Linked DNA regions of Homo sapiens: region 1 is linked to region 2. Evidence: promoter capture Hi-C in human tissues and cell types (Jung and others, 2019). All regions are on one chromosome and are shown on one strand. Each heading gives the region's core, a stretch centred on a gene start or on the middle of the fragment in contact. The rest is flanking DNA. Distances are from core to core; before and after follow the strand shown. Region 1 holds the start of SLC25A39 (solute carrier family 25 member 39). Region 2 holds the start of FAM215A (family with sequence similarity 215 member A).

Region 1 (2,929 bases), core at 157-2,656, 410 kb before region 2:
GTTACTCTGTTGCCCAGGCTGGAATGCAGTGGTGCGATCTCGGCTCACTGCAACCTCCGCCGGCCGGGTTCAAGCGATTCTCCTGCCTCAGCCTCCCGAGTAGCTGGGATTACAGGCGCCAGCCATCATGCCCGGCTACTTTTGTATTTTTAGTAGAGACGGGGTTTCACCATGTTGGCCAGGCTGGTCTCGAACTCCTGACTTCAAGTGATCCGCCCGCCTCGGCCTCCTAAAGTGCTGGATTACAGGCGTGAGCCACCGCGCCCGGCCTGTGGTAATCTATTTCAACAATAACCTACTGCAAAGAGTTTTGAGACTCAGAAGAAATCACGATACGAGAGCAACCAACACCAAAACGTCGATGCCCTCCCGCACTCAGTGCTCTTCCTCTCCGCGCAGAGTCATTCCGGGCCTTAGGCGAGGTTGTGATTTGCCCAAGGTCACGCGAAGGTGGGATCTGGCTCCCCATGGCTCTCCCGTCTCCCCCGGCTTGCTCACGTCCCAGCCCGCCCGGCCCGGGCTGCAGCTCAGCTAACCCAGTGGCGCACACCCGCGCGGGGCCCTGTGGTTTACAAAGCGTTTTGCAGTTGCAGGCCTGTCCTGTAACCTGAAAAATGGGGGCGATGCTAAGGCCGGCGAGAGAAGTCGCCGCGAAGTTTTCAAGTCTCGGCGGGTAGCCCGGCAAGTAACTTCGTCGTTATTGTGTGGTCTCCCGGCGATCTCGAAGAACTCATTCTCACTGCCGCCGCCACGCACCTGAGGACACCGAGGAAGAGGGCCAGTGCGTCACCCTCGCCGTCCAGAAGGCGCTGGGGTTTCCAGTGCCGCGCGCGGCCGGGGCGGGGCTGGTGAAAATGCGCTGTTAAGGCCGGCGCGGCGGCTCACGCCTGGAATCCCAGCACTTTCGAAGACCGAGGTGGGCGGATCGCTTGAGCCCAGGAGTTCCAGACTAGCCTGGGCAAAATAGGGAGACAAAAATAAAAGTAACAAACCAGCCGGGCGTGGCGGCGCGCGCCTGTGGTCCCAGCTACTCCGGAGGCTGAGGCAGGAGGATCGCTTGAACCCGGGAGGTCAAGGCTGCAGTGAGCCTAGATCGCGCCACTGCCCTCCAGCCTCGGCGACAGAGCGAGGCTGAAAAAGATGCTGTCTAAAAAAAGATGCTGGAAGTGCGTGCTGCTGCCACGTTAAGCGCGACGTGGAGACCGCGAAGTTGGCCGGCAGCTCTCAGCGCTGGACAGGCATGGAACTCGCCCGCGCGGCCCCGTCAAGGGGGCGGGACCGTCGCAGGTCCGGGCGGAGACGCGAGTGGGCGGAGCCGGGGACACTCCGGGCTTGCGGCTGGTCGGCCCGCGGCGGGCGGGGCCTCGTGGCGCGGTGTAGGGGCGGGGCCCCCTTGGCTGCTTTCGGCGTCGGCCTAGGTGCGCTGCGAGCGCGCGCGGACCGCGCACAGGCGGCGGAGCCGGTATGGGCCCGCCTGACCCTGGGCGCCGCGCCGCACGAGCACCAGCCTAGAGCCAGGTAGGCGGCACTGGGCCGGGGCTGGGGGCGGAGACGGAAGCGGGGGTCTCCGGGCGGCCGTGCGAGCCAGGGCAGGTGCTGGGGCCGTCGAGCTGGCGTGGTCCCCCTCACCTGGCGGCTCTCCGCCGTTCGGGGCCGGGAGTGTCGCCGAGGGTCGGGGAGACGTCCTGGTCCTACGTTCCTACTTCCCGCTCTCCCGGCTGCGCCCCGGGCCTGCATTTTGGGGCGGGAACCCAGAGACTGCTCTTTCTCTCCGGGCCCCGGGTCTGGCCCGTCCGGCCGGGCGGGGAGGGCCGGGCATCCCAGCCCGCAGTCCTGAGGAGGCGACGGGCCCTTCTTGGTCACCGGATCTGTTTACACGTCACCCTCGATGCCCGGCCGTCCCTCCACGCCCAGTAACTTGGGCTCTCAGGTGCCTGCCCGGGGCCTTGGTGCTGGAGTGGGGGCTGTGGGGGCAGCACAGGTACTCTGATTTTGGGGCCACGAGGGCCAAATCCGCGCCTGCACGTAGGAGGTGCGCAGTGGACACGTGCGAGGTGGACGAGGGAAGGACCCTGGCTCCTACTGCATTCGAGCGATAGGTCTGGCACCCTAGCTTCCTTCGGAACCACTCCTGAGTGACCTTGGGCAGGCCACCTCGTCTCCCCGAGCCTTAGTTTTCCCCGGCGGAGGGGGGCGGACAGTCCCTGCTTTAGAGGTCATTGCCAGGGTTGTTGAGGCAACAGATGTTTCGAGGGCGGTGGATGAGGGTTGGGTTAAAGTCTCACAGTGGGCCGGGTGCGGTGGCTCACGCCTGTAATCCCAGTGCTTTGGGAGGCTGAGGCGGGCGGATCACGAGGTCAGGAGATCGAGATCATCTTGGCCAACATGGTGAAACCCTGTCTCTACTAAAAATGCAAAAATTAACTAGGCGTGGTGGTGCGCGCCTGTAGTCCCAGCTACTTGGGAGGCTGAAGCAAGAGAACCGCTTGAACGGGGGTGGATGTTGCAGTGAGCCAAGATGGTGCCACTGCACTCCAGCCTGGCAACAGTGCGCAGAGCGAGACGCCGTCTCAAAACAAAAGTCTCACAGTGGCCCAGCCTCCTTTCCTGCCATCCCTGGAGTTGTGGTCTGTTTGAGGTTTGGTTTTCAGGACTGAAGCTTCAAGATGGCTGACCAGGACCCTGCGGGCATCAGCCCCCTCCAGCAAATGGTGGCCTCAGGCACCGGGGCTGTGGTTACCTCTCTCTTCAGTAAGACCTAGGGGAGGTGGGGTGGGGGCGGGTGGGGATGGGGCAGACCGGAGATTGGAGGCTGTGTGGTCCTGGGGGAGGAGTCCTAGGGGTGGGGTCCTGAAAGGAGCCTTCAGACCCGCTTCCTCCCCCAGTGACACCCCTGGACGTGGTGAAGGTTCGCCTGCAGTCTCAGCGG
Region 2 (2,771 bases), core at 45-2,544:
CACGCTCGCTCCCCTACATCAATCTCCCAGAAAAAGGAACCTATTTTATTCTTTTCTTTTCTTTTTTTTTTTTTTTTTTTTTTTTAGAGACAGGCCTCACCTTGTTGCCCAGGCTGGTTTTGAACTCCTGGCCTCAAGTGATCCTCCGGCCTTGGCCTCCCAAGTTACTGAGTTCACAGGCGCGAGCCACCACGACCAGTGAAGCCTATATTAAGCCCTTTTATGCTCACTCTGCGATACTGCAGAGAGGGCAGGGAGGAAGCAGAGGTGCCCTGGCATCTTCAGCTGGCGGTGAGCAGGGCGCTGAGGGTGGGAGAGGCCGGGCGCCTGGGGATGGGAGGCAGGACCGCACCTTCACAGGGATGCTGCCACCCTACCCCGGAGGTCAGGGCCTCTCGCCCAGCTCTGGCTCTGAGGTCCTGGAGGGAGGGAGATGCTGTTGCGACTCAGAAGATCAGGGGAGGGCCACCCCCATTCGAGAAAAGTGAAAATCCTGAGCCTGAAGCAGAAGTGGAGACGGTTGGAGCGGAGGCTTCAGAGGGTGGCGTTGGGAAGAGGGTCTGGCGCCGCCGTGTGGACTGTTCGGGCTCACGGGGCTGAAGGCTCCGAAGACCGAGACCTGTGAACCGTGGGGAGGCTCCATGCGGATGGGGGCCACAGCCCCCGCCGGAGCCCCCACACTAGCCCTGGACTTCTCCACCGGCTTACGACATGATAGCTCAATAAGCTCCTTATTTAACGCACTGTTGTATCAGGTCCCTGTCGCAGCCACTGGCCCTATAGCCTAATAAAGGAGCGGGTGCACGCATTGGATTGGTGAGCTACCGCCACAGCAACAAGTCCTAATCAACCATCCCAAACGGTGGCTGGAACAAGGTTCTCGCAGGCCTGTGCTTGGGCTTGAACGCTGGGCCGGCCGCTGCGCTCTGTGGCTCCCTGCAGACCTGCGGATCGGCCAGGGGGCTCCGATCCTTTTGGGCCGTGGCTGAAGAAGCAGCGGCTGCACCAGAGAAGTCCTTCTGGGTGAAGGTGGAAGCGCACAGGGACCGCGGAACCGCCCAAGGCGTCTTCCGGCGTAGGCTCAGAACTGGCAGGCTTTCGTTTCTGCTTCATTCCATGGCCAGAGCAAGCCACGTGGGCAAGCCCGAAACCAGGGGGCGGGAAAGTACCCTCCACCCACAAGGAAACCATGGCAAGCGGTGGTTGCAGGTAGGGCTGAGGAATTGGGGCCGATAGTTCTATCTATCCCGGTGAGTGAGGAGACCTGCTTTGGGGGTTGCACAGTCTGGGTCTGCCCTTGCAGTGGTATCTGTCTCTGTGAAGACTCCACCACGGGTCGCCATCAGGTCAGAGACCCTGACAAGGTAAGAATTTGCATTTTCCTCTGCACACAACCCTGTTCCCTTCCCCTCCGCATGCCTAACACAACACTCCCTTCCCCCCCATGCCTAACAGAGAGAAAGGAGAGAGACAGTTCTTGAGCCCGGTTCTTCCTGCTTGAGCTTGGTGTGTCAACCAAAAGAGTCAAACTCTGTAAAATATTTGAAGGGATTTATTTTGAGCCTACTATGCATGACCAATGGCCCATGACAGCCTTCAGCAGATCCTGAGAACATGTGCCCAAGGTGATCAGGCCACAACTTGGTTTTATGTGTTTCAGGGAGACATCGGACATCAATAATATATGCGACATGTACAGTGGTTTGATCTGGAAAGGCTGGACAACTGGAATGGGGTTGGGGAAGTGGACGACTTCCAGGTTATAAGTAGATCGAAAGATTTTCTGATTGGCAATTGGTGGAAAGAGTTAAATTACTGTCTAAAGACTTAAAATCAACAGAAAGGAATGTTTGGGTTAAGATAAGAGATTGTGGAGACCAAGGTTTTATCACGCAGGTGAAGCCTCCAGGTGGCAGGCTTCAGAGAGAATAGACTGTAAATGTTTCCTTTCAGACTTAAAGAGTCTGTTCTATCAGTAAGTCCAAAAGGAGGGATCGTATAATTAGGCATGACTGGGCTCCCCTTCCCATCATGGCCTGAACTAGTTTTCAGGTTAACTTTGGAATGCCCTTTGCTGAGTGGAGAGGAGGAGTCCATTCAGATGGTTGGGTGAGCTTAGAATTTTATGTTTGGGTTTCAGTTGGCATCCAGTATCCCTTCCCCCAAGTTTGGGGCCCCTCCCAAAGGAGATAGGCCTGGGTCTCTCCTCACATCCTTGGGGGTCTCAGAACTGCAGACTCAAACCTTTTGCCTCAAGGAATCCCTTTGATGATTTGCATAAACCCTTGGGAGGCTGCAGGGGGGCTGCTCTGGAGCTGAGACACAGCGAGTCAATCTCCCTCCATCCCCCTTTTGTCTTGTTCTCACCCTGAGGCTGCAGGCCTCAAGTTTTTTGGCTGGATTCTTCCCAAAGCAGGTTGGGGGTGCAGGTACTGTAATCACCTGATGGGTTCTTCCTGCCTACTGCACAGACAAAACCAATCCACTGAGACCATGGCATTGCAGTAAAGAAAGAGTAATTGACACAAGGCCGGGCACACAGGAAATAGTTATTACTCAAATCGGTCTCCCCCAAAACTTGAAGATTAGTTTTTCAAAGATAGTTTGGTGGGCAGGGTCTAGGGTAGGGTAGAGGTGCTGCTGATTGGTTGGGCATGCAGATATAGGGGTATGGAAAATGGTCCTTGAATGCTGAGTCTGCTTCTGGTTGGCAGCCACAGGACTGGTTGAGTCACGAGTCTCGATGGAGCCAGAAATGCATAAAGAAACAT

What was found. The method cuts DNA at HindIII sites, captures the fragments that hold promoters and counts their contacts. A contact is called where the count stands out against the background at its distance.
Region 1: the fragment with the promoter of SLC25A39 here is called in contact with the fragment with the promoter of FAM215A in region 2 in 1 of the 25 tissues and cell types used here (IMR-90 fibroblasts).

Annotation. Positions count from the first base shown.
Region 1 is chr17:44,323,300-44,326,228 of GRCh38, reverse strand. It overlaps SLC25A39 (solute carrier family 25 member 39), which reads left to right and starts at 1,406. Exons shown (of 12, transcript NM_001143780.3): 1 at 1,406-1,518; 2 at 2,652-2,751; 3 at 2,886-2,929. The coding sequence starts at 2,667. It overlaps LOC124904009 (a long non-coding RNA gene), which reads right to left and starts at 776. Exons shown (of 2, transcript XR_007065768.1): 1 at 608-776. RefSeq lists enhancers at 324-373, 1-483, 554-613, 664-743, 904-1,093 and silencers at 1,194-1,623, 1,644-1,863. The HindIII fragment of the contact is 13,748 bases long and covers 1-2,929 here.
Region 2 is chr17:43,915,731-43,918,501 of GRCh38, reverse strand. It overlaps FAM215A (family with sequence similarity 215 member A), which reads right to left and starts at 1,294. Exons shown (of 1, transcript NR_026770.1): 1 at 515-1,294. LOC105371787 (a long non-coding RNA gene) reads left to right here and starts at 1,278. Exons shown (of 2, transcript XR_001752898.2): 1 at 1,278-1,364. RefSeq lists enhancers at 1-650, 651-1,472. The HindIII fragment of the contact is 7,093 bases long and covers 1-2,771 here.